Linked DNA regions of Homo sapiens: region 2 is linked to region 1. The links are contacts of gene promoters, found by promoter capture Hi-C in blood cells and fetal thymus (Javierre and others, 2016). All regions are on one chromosome and are shown on one strand. Each heading gives the region's core, a stretch centred on a gene start or on the middle of the fragment in contact. The rest is flanking DNA. Distances are from core to core; before and after follow the strand shown.

The links. Contacts are between HindIII fragments. The CHiCAGO score rates a contact against its expected background, and 5 or more counts as called.
Region 2: a fragment that was not itself captured here is called in contact with the fragment with the promoter of SOCS6 in region 1 in 2 of 17 cell types (monocytes and M2 macrophages); the score reaches 7.8 in monocytes.

Annotation. Positions count from the first base shown.
Region 1 is chr18:70,286,985-70,291,308 of GRCh38, reverse strand. It overlaps SOCS6 (suppressor of cytokine signaling 6), which reads right to left and starts at 2,264. Exons shown (of 2, transcript NM_004232.4): 1 at 2,219-2,264. RefSeq lists a silencer at 1,529-2,428. The HindIII fragment of the contact is 7,416 bases long and covers 1-3,211 here.
Region 2 is chr18:70,491,569-70,495,715 of GRCh38, reverse strand. No RefSeq gene overlaps it. Among named protein-coding and RNA genes, the nearest start is that of LINC01910, 110 kb to the right of the region's middle. The HindIII fragment of the contact is 2,319 bases long and covers 1,683-4,001 here.

The sequences.
Region 1 (4,324 bases), core at 1,015-3,514:
GCAACACAGCAAGACCCCACCTCTCCAAAAAACAATCAGCCAGGTGTGGTGGCACATGTCTGTGGTCCAAGCTACTCAGGAGGCTGAGGGAGGTGGATCACTTGAGCCCAGGAGTTCAAGGCTGCAGTGAGCCATGATTGCACCACTGCACTCCACCCTGGGTGACAGAGGAAAAACAAAAAAGAAGATACTTGCTTTCTGTTTCCTAAAAAAAGGGGGGCCATTAAAAGAACACCTTTTCCAGTTCTAATGCAAGAATGAAGAAAAACACTGGAAGGCAAAATGACTAGAAACCCAGTCAGTACAGCACCATTTTCCACCCTACGCCCAGTCAATGGCTCTCAAATTCCTTCCCTGCCACTCCCTGCGGGGTGGGGGGCCCACCAAGAGAGGGGGTCATGGGATGACCCGAGGGTGTGCGCTTGGGTGGGAGGCCCTGCTGAAGAGAAAGGGGCAAGACTACCAATTTAGAGGGTAATTTAGAAGATAACGATAAAGGTAAGAGAGAAACAGTGTTTCAAAAGAGATGCTGAATGGAGTTCTAAAAAAGTATAGATTCGGGTGAATACCTGGCTGACCCTTACCCAGGCACAAGCGGAAAGCCCTGGCCAAACTCCAGATAGAAGTTCTTCTAGGAATCCTTATCAAATCCACTGTCCACGAACCAGGTTCCTCCAAGGCACCAAGGCAGGCTTAGGGAGGGTGTTTGAACCAAAGGGTTAAGGCCACATATTTAATTTAGAGCTGAATGGATCCTAGACCTTACCATATCCACGCGTGCACAAAACCCACTAGGAGGAGAAATTAGAAAGCCCACGGAAAAGTATTACAGACTTTTTTTCCGGTTTTTGTGAAACCTGGTGAGCAATGCCATTCGTGTTTTTAAGTAAGGCTGTCCACAGCATTAAATATTACAATTAAGATTCGTTCATTCAAGTAAGCTAAATGGATTTAATGTTGTGGTAGTTGGTTAAAAACAAGTCAAGATAAATTGCTACCTTCAGTGGTTGAGAAGATGTCAGATATTTTATCTTGAAGTAGAACGTTTACTTTTGTTTGATTCCAAATGTATCTTTATCCCAAGGAACACAGTAAATTTAAAATGTCTCTGGGAGACGTTCAGTGTGTAATTCACGTTATTTCTGTCATTACTGTGTTCTCTGTCCTCATGCACAGTGCATGCTGCCTTATCCGGGCAGACGTTGCAGAAACATTTGTTGAAATGAATTCAACATTATTTATTTTGCTACCGGAAGACTGAGTCCCGCCACATATTCCCACCTGGCCCTTCATTCCAAACAGTGGGGATGGGAACCCCAATTTCACATTCCAACTGAACGTTAAGTTGGCACACACACTACTGCACATATCCCAAGTTTTGTGCCAGGATCTGCCCCTGAGAAACGTCCATAATTCTGCTCCGTGAGCCACAAGGGTGTACCTGAAGTTGCCAACTCCCGAAGCAAACTGAAAATTCAGGCCCGTGTCGGTCCCAGGAGCGGTTTAAATTCCACAATCGTCCGGTCCCTACACCCGGGTGAGTGCGCAGCCGGCCGGCGGCACCTTCAGCCGCAGAGCAGCCCCGGCCTGCACCTCCACCAGCGCCGGCGCGACCTCGCGGTGGGGCGGGGGCGTCCCCGAGTCCCAGCGCCGCGCCCCAGGCCCGCCCTCGCGCCTGCGGCCTCGCCGCGCCCCGACCCCGAGCCCGAGCCCGAGCCCGCGGAGGTCCGAGGAGGGACCCGGCCGGGGCGCAGAGCCGCGCAGGCCCCGCGCCGCTGCCCAGGCCTCGCGGAGCCCCGGCCTCTCCCCGGCGAGCTGCGGGCAACAAAGGCGGCGGCCCAGGCCGGCGCGCCGCGGCCGAAGAGGCCGAGGGGTCGAGAAGAGCCGTCCGCGGCCGCGCAGGCCTCGGCCCTTCAGGGGCCGCCGCGCCCCGGCCCCGGCTTCCCGGTTTCCGCGTCCCCGCTCCCGGGACTGGCCCCGGCCCCCGTTCCCCGGCCCTGGCCCCCGCCCGCGCACCCGCCGAGACGGCGCAGGGCCTCGCGCTGACCCAGACCCGTCGCTGCAGCCCCGCGCCCGGCGGCCTCCCTGGCCCGGCCCGCGCCGGATCCGCCCCCTGCACTCCGAGGCGAAAACCAGCCGTGTCCCGGACCGCGGGCGACCCGGAGGCGGACGGCGAAGCCCTGCCCCTGCCTCCCGCCCGAGCTCCCCGGACGCTTACCCGGAGGCGGCCCGGCTCCGCTTCCTCGCCCAGCGCCGGCGCGACTGCCGCGCTCGCCTTCTCCTCTCGGCAACTCCTCCTCCCGCCTCCTTCCTCCTCCTCCTCCAGGAGGGGCGCGCGGCCGCGGCGCCTCGGCCCGAGCGGGGAGCGGGTGCGGAGGAGCCGAGCGGGCCGCCCCCCGTCCACTACTCGGGCCCGCGGCGCAGGCGGGGCGTCGGGGCGCGCGGGGCTGAGGCCGGGGGCCGCGCGGGGCGGGGCGGGGGCCGGGCACTAAGTGGGGGTTCCGAGGGGAGGGGCGCCGGGCCGGGGTCGTGGGGCGGACGGAGCGCGGAGCCCTGATCCCTTCCCCCACCCCCGCGCCCCTCCGCTGGTGCCTGCAGGAGGCCGCTCCTCCGGCCCCCAGAGTCCCTGTCCTGGTTTTTCCTTTGGTGCTTTCCCTCTGGCGGGGGTGGCCCCGGCTAACGCGGAAAGGAAAGTCTCCTCGTTCCCCGGCCCCGCGGATTTGGCGGCTGCGGTCCCTGTCCCCCTGTGGCGGGCGGTCGGACCCCCGCACTGCCCAGGTCCGCTGGGCTCGCGCGGGGACCCCGGCCTCGTCCCCGCAGGGAGGGGACCCCAGGACAGACGCGCGCGCACGCTGTGCAGAGCCACAAGTGGGGAAACCCTCCCCACACCTCGACTAAATTGTGAAAAATGCTTTTTAAAAAACCAAACATTCCTTGTTTCAAGCCATCCACTTTTCCATTTAGTCGTTTTCAGGGAGGTTTTGTACAAGGAATAGTTGTTTGTGCCGCCGAATTCCAAGGTAGTGTGGTATACAAGTTGCATGTTGGGATCTTGACTAATTTCTTTGGAAACTGGCTGAACATACTACTAATGTATAGCAGTACCACAAAAACTTGATTTTTGTGCATAAGAATCAATAGGAAAATTTGTATTTCTCTTACGATGAAAAGTGGTTAAAAAAATGAATATCATTAGTATTTCAGTAAAGCTTGGGGGGAGATAAATATTAAAATCTAATGAGAATTATTGTGGACTTTAAAAGTTGTGTTTCTTGAATAGTATGGACCTTTTTAAAAGAAAACCGAAAGGACAGAGAAAAAAGGGCTAGAAAAAAAGTCTAAAAAGCTGTTCAGGTATGAGTTGGTACCCGAATTATATCTCAATAAAGTTGTTAGTTACAAAAAAGTTCAAGTCCAGTAATCTTAATTCCTATGTCCAATATACAATCTGGATTTCCCCAAGAAATCTAGATTCATAACAGAAAAGTTGGATCTTTAGGTGATGCAAAGTTGATGTCATGTATCATACACTATCATTGTCATCTTCAGTTTTTACTTGAATTTATTAATAAAATACTACCATTATTGTTACCGTGATTGAAATGCAACACAATTCTCAAATATCTAATTACAGTGATTGGAGAATGTAGGTTGAAATAGAATTGTCAGAGAAGTTAGTGGGAAACACAACAAACAGTAATTAACGGTGGCTCATGCCTGTAATCCCAGCACTTTGGGAGGCCGAGGCGGGCGGATCACAAGATCAGGAGATCGAGACCTGCCTGGCCAACACAGTGAAACCCCATCTCTACTAAAAATACAAAAAGTAGCTGGGCGTGGTGGCAGCTGCCTGTAATCCCAGCTACTCAGGAGGCTGAGGCAGGAGAATCGTTTGAACCCGGGAGGCGGAGGTTGCAGTAAGCCGAGATCGCACCACTGCACTCCAGCCTGGGTGACAGAGCTAGATGCCGTCTCAAAAAAAAAAAAAAGAAAAGAAGCAAACGTTTCAATCCTACTGCCTCGGAGTTCCAGTGTCTCCCTATATTTTCTAAAATGACAACCAGTAGGAGCTGTGCAGCAGGGGGTTAGTGAGCCTTTCACGCAGCAATGGGGCTGTGCAGGATGGGGAAGTGTTGACTCTTTTAGGAGACACTTAAATGTATGGTTAAGACCCTGGGGTTCTGAGTCTGGCAGAGCTGGTGCAGAAGCACAGTTTTGACAGGTCATACAGCTGTGTGACCTCAAACAAGTTTCTCAGTTGGAACCTCAGTTTCTACTTTTGTAAAGGGTGAGTGAGGGGGCTCGATATTAATTATGTCAAATA
Region 2 (4,147 bases), core at 1,593-4,092, 200 kb before region 1:
ATAAAACCAAATTTAAAATTTCATGTCTGGGACGCTAAACATTCACTGCTCAGAAATTACCTGCTATGGGGCATGAAGCACCTCTTTGGAACTTTTCCCTTCATTTGCCCTGGTGGGTGAGCTGTGTGCCTCTTATGAATACTCCATGATGAAGTTCAAAGAAAGTGACTCAGAGAGCACAGTGGAACTGTTCCTTAAATGTAGGCTGCCTCTTATAAGGAGGAAAAAAAGGAATCTGGTTACTTTGGCTAGCCATTTATTTATTTATTTATTTTTTAGAGTCTCGCTCTGTTGCCCAGGCTGGAGTGCAGTGGTGTGATATCAGCTCACTGCAAGCTCCGCCTCCCAGGTTCATGCCATTGTCCTGCCTCAGCCTCCCAAGTGGCTGGGACTACAGGCGCCTGCCACCATGCCCGGCTAATTTTTTGTATTTTTAGTAGAAACAGGGTTTCACTGTGTTAGCCAGGATGGTCTCGATCTCCTGACCTCGTGATCCGCCTGCCTCGGCCTCCCAAAGTGCTGGGATAACAGGTGTGAGCCACCACGTCTGGCTCATTTAATTATTTTTAATTTATTAGCCTCCACATGCTACTCTCCCTTTGACATCCCTAACCCACACATGGGTGTAAGGCCTAAAATTAAGATGCAGTTTTGTATGCTGTCTTGACATCTGGGAAACCAGGAGGGCCTTCAATGGCCTTACCTCAAGTTCCCTCCCTCCTGTGGGAAAAATACCCTAGCTAAAGGACACTCCTTATCATGGGACCACATATATCCCTGAGTAGCGGGCTTCAGTTTCCTGCCAACCCATGGAGTTATCCAAACAAGCCAATCACATCCTCCTCCTCTTGTTACTACAAAGCCTACCTCCCCCATCCAATCACATCCTCCTCCTCTTGTTACTACAAAGCCTACCTCCCCCATCCCCTGCTGGACACCTGTCCGGTGTCAGGTGCCGTGGGTTTGGCCATCTCTACAACCCTAGGGTGGGAAACCCTCTATCACCACCAGGGTGAATAGGAGGAGGTGCCTAAAACAACCCAGTTCATAACTGATTGATTGAAAATTGCCTTGAGCCCTCCCCACATGAACTCTGAGCTGCTGGGACAGGTCTTTCAAGGGCAGGCCTCTCCTTATGATGCCCTGCCACAGAATGGATCTCTGATCCTCTGTTTTTCAATTTACAACAAATTGGCCTGGTGAGGTGGCTCACGCCTGTAATTCCAGCACTTTGGGAGGCCAAAGTGGGAGGATCTCTTGAGCCCAGGAATTCAAGAGCAGCTTGGGCAACAAAGCAAAACCCCATCTCTAAAAACAAAAAAATTAAAAGAAAAAAATTAGCCATGCATGGTAGCACATGCCTTGGTCCCAGCTACTCAGGAGGCTGAGGGAGGAGGATCAGTTGAGCCCAAGAGTTCAAGGCCACAGTGAGCTATGATCATGACACCGCACTCCAGCCTGGGCAACAAAGTGAGACCATGTCTCTTAAAAAAAAAAAAAACAATTGAGTAAGAATAATTGTATATTGAATCTTTTTCTCTCCTTGAATTGAACAATTTCTCTGAACACATGAGTCCATGGAAGAAACATTTTTCCTCTGTTAACAAAAACCTTTCAGACAGTTTTCTTTCAGGTCACTTTTATACCAAACACTATTCTTCCTTTCTCTTTTTTTTTAAGCTTATAATGTTGATTTTAGGAGTAACCTTCACCACCACCTACAACACAAATTATACTCCCTTACCTTGCCAGTGAAAATTCTAAAACTTCCCCTGCAGCAGTCATTAAATAATAAATACTTTACTGCCATGATTTTATCCATAAACACTCGATGGTTTACAGATGGATTTATAAGGATCCCCAGGGAACTATGACTGATCACATCCTATGCCAGTTCTTCTCCACATCCCCCGACCACACTAACTCTTCTCTAGGCAGAGATATGACAGTCACCACTGAGCCATCTTCCGAGGAACACAGGGGTCCCTCCTGACAGCAGAAGTTGCTAGAACGGCTGGAAATACACGTCCAGCTGGCATGCCCACTGACGCGTGTCCGTGGCCCAGTGCAGCTCCCTGGGAAGTGTGTTGCTGCACCGTAGGCTCCGCAGCAGGGAGTGTGCTCCCAGGATCACCAAGCCCTTCAGGTTCCAAGAAGAAAGCAGACTAATAACTGGATTCACTTTTGACAGCCCTTTGGAAGCCCTGTCCCTTAGCACCACTACCAAAATAAATGCTACTGTGGCCAATTCAAAAGTTCTTTCTTTCAACTTCTCTTACTTAGACAAATACTTATTGAAGAGCTATTATTTAACGAGTATTGTCCCAGATTCTAAGGCTATAGTACTGGATGTACTGCAGCATTCTTCCTCCATTGGCTCACAGTAGTGGGCGCCACAGGAAAGGAAGCAGTTAAAATACTATAGGAATAAAGGTGAGTGGACAGACTGTGGTACAGCCAGACAATGAAATATTATTCAAAAATAACAAGAAATTAGCTATCAACCCACGAAAAGACATGGAGGAAACTTAAATGCAAATTTCTAAATGAAGGGAGGCAGCCAGAAAGGCCTTTATCCTGCATGACTCCAACTGTACAATATTCGGGAAAAGGCAAAACTATCCAGAGAGTAAAAGGATCAGGGGCTGCCAGGAGCAGCAGAGAGGCAGGGATGAACAGGCAGAACACAGAGGATTTTTAGGGCAATGAAAATATTCTGTATAATATTACAGTGGTGGATATATGTCATTAGTCACATCAAAACCCACAGAGTATACAACACCCAGAGTAAACTATGGACTTTAGTTAATAACCATGTATTAATATTTGTTCATGAATTATAACAAATGTCTCATATTAGTGGAAGATGTTAATAGAAGAAACTGTACAAGGAAGAATAGATGACAAATCTCTGTACTATTTGTTCAATGTTTCTGTAAACCTAAAATGGTTCTAAAAACTAAAGTCTATTAATTTAAAATCAAAAAATGTATAGAAAAGTCCCATTTTAGCACCAATTGCATTTTAGCACCAGTAACTAATAATGACTGTTCAATGTTTCACAGGCCTGTTGGCACTTAATCTTCAGAGCAACCTGTTACTCTCCCCAGTATGCAGATGATAAAATGAAGGCAGTAAAGTTGAATTCTTTGCCTGGATTCACAAAGTTTGCTATGGGCTGGCCTAGGTTTGACTACAGAACTCAGGTCTTAACCATAACAATCTGTGTTTTGCCTCTTCCCTAAAAGACACCATATAAACGTCTGTGAAATGGGGGAAGTATTCCCCTTGCCTTGGGTGGAACTGAGGTGGAATCACAAAGTTCTTACTGTGTTCAGAGTACTAATCTTATTTAGGCCGTGGAAGACTGGAGTCAATGCCAGTCATGCCCCAGTGTAAAATAGATCAGGCCAGAGGTGGTTAGGACTGTATATGATGACTCTTCTGTACTGAACCTCTTACCAGTCATTGTTGATCTGGGACAAATGGAGAAAGGCTCTTTGATAATAACCATATTTTATGAGGAATAATCACTTTAAATAAATGACCAAAAATGTAATGACTTAAAGCTAATCTTTAGAACATCAAGCTATGAAGTACCTCCTCCAAGATTGTATTAGTCTTCCTAGTGCTGTCTGGTACCAATATCCTACTTGTAGATAATGAACCGGGCTCAAGTAAGTCCTATTCCAGTAGCCTCACCAATGCAAAGCGAAATGGAAGAAGCCCCAAAAGATAGTAGTAGAGGAAGACTCTATCTGCATAAAGATGCATGGCCACAAGAGGGCACTGCAGACACAATGTGGAATGCAGATGCCCACAGGTACCCAGGCGGTCACTCACTGCAAAGAGAACCAATGGGCAAAAGTTAACTCGCTTTCCAATTTTAAAAGACAAATCATGACTTAATCTACAGTAGTGACTGAATCTATATTTAAATCCCAACATGCTGCAGAGCTATTTAGTATTATTCAGAATTAGAATTATTTCCCTTAAAAGCTTCCAAAGTAATATTTAAATACTATTAATCTGTATCTTACTTATACAACTAAGTATATTATATAGCAAGCAATAAACCTAAATAAAATTGCTAGTCAAATTGAGCATGGATTAAGTGATCAGAGAATGTCATACTTCTTCAATTCTG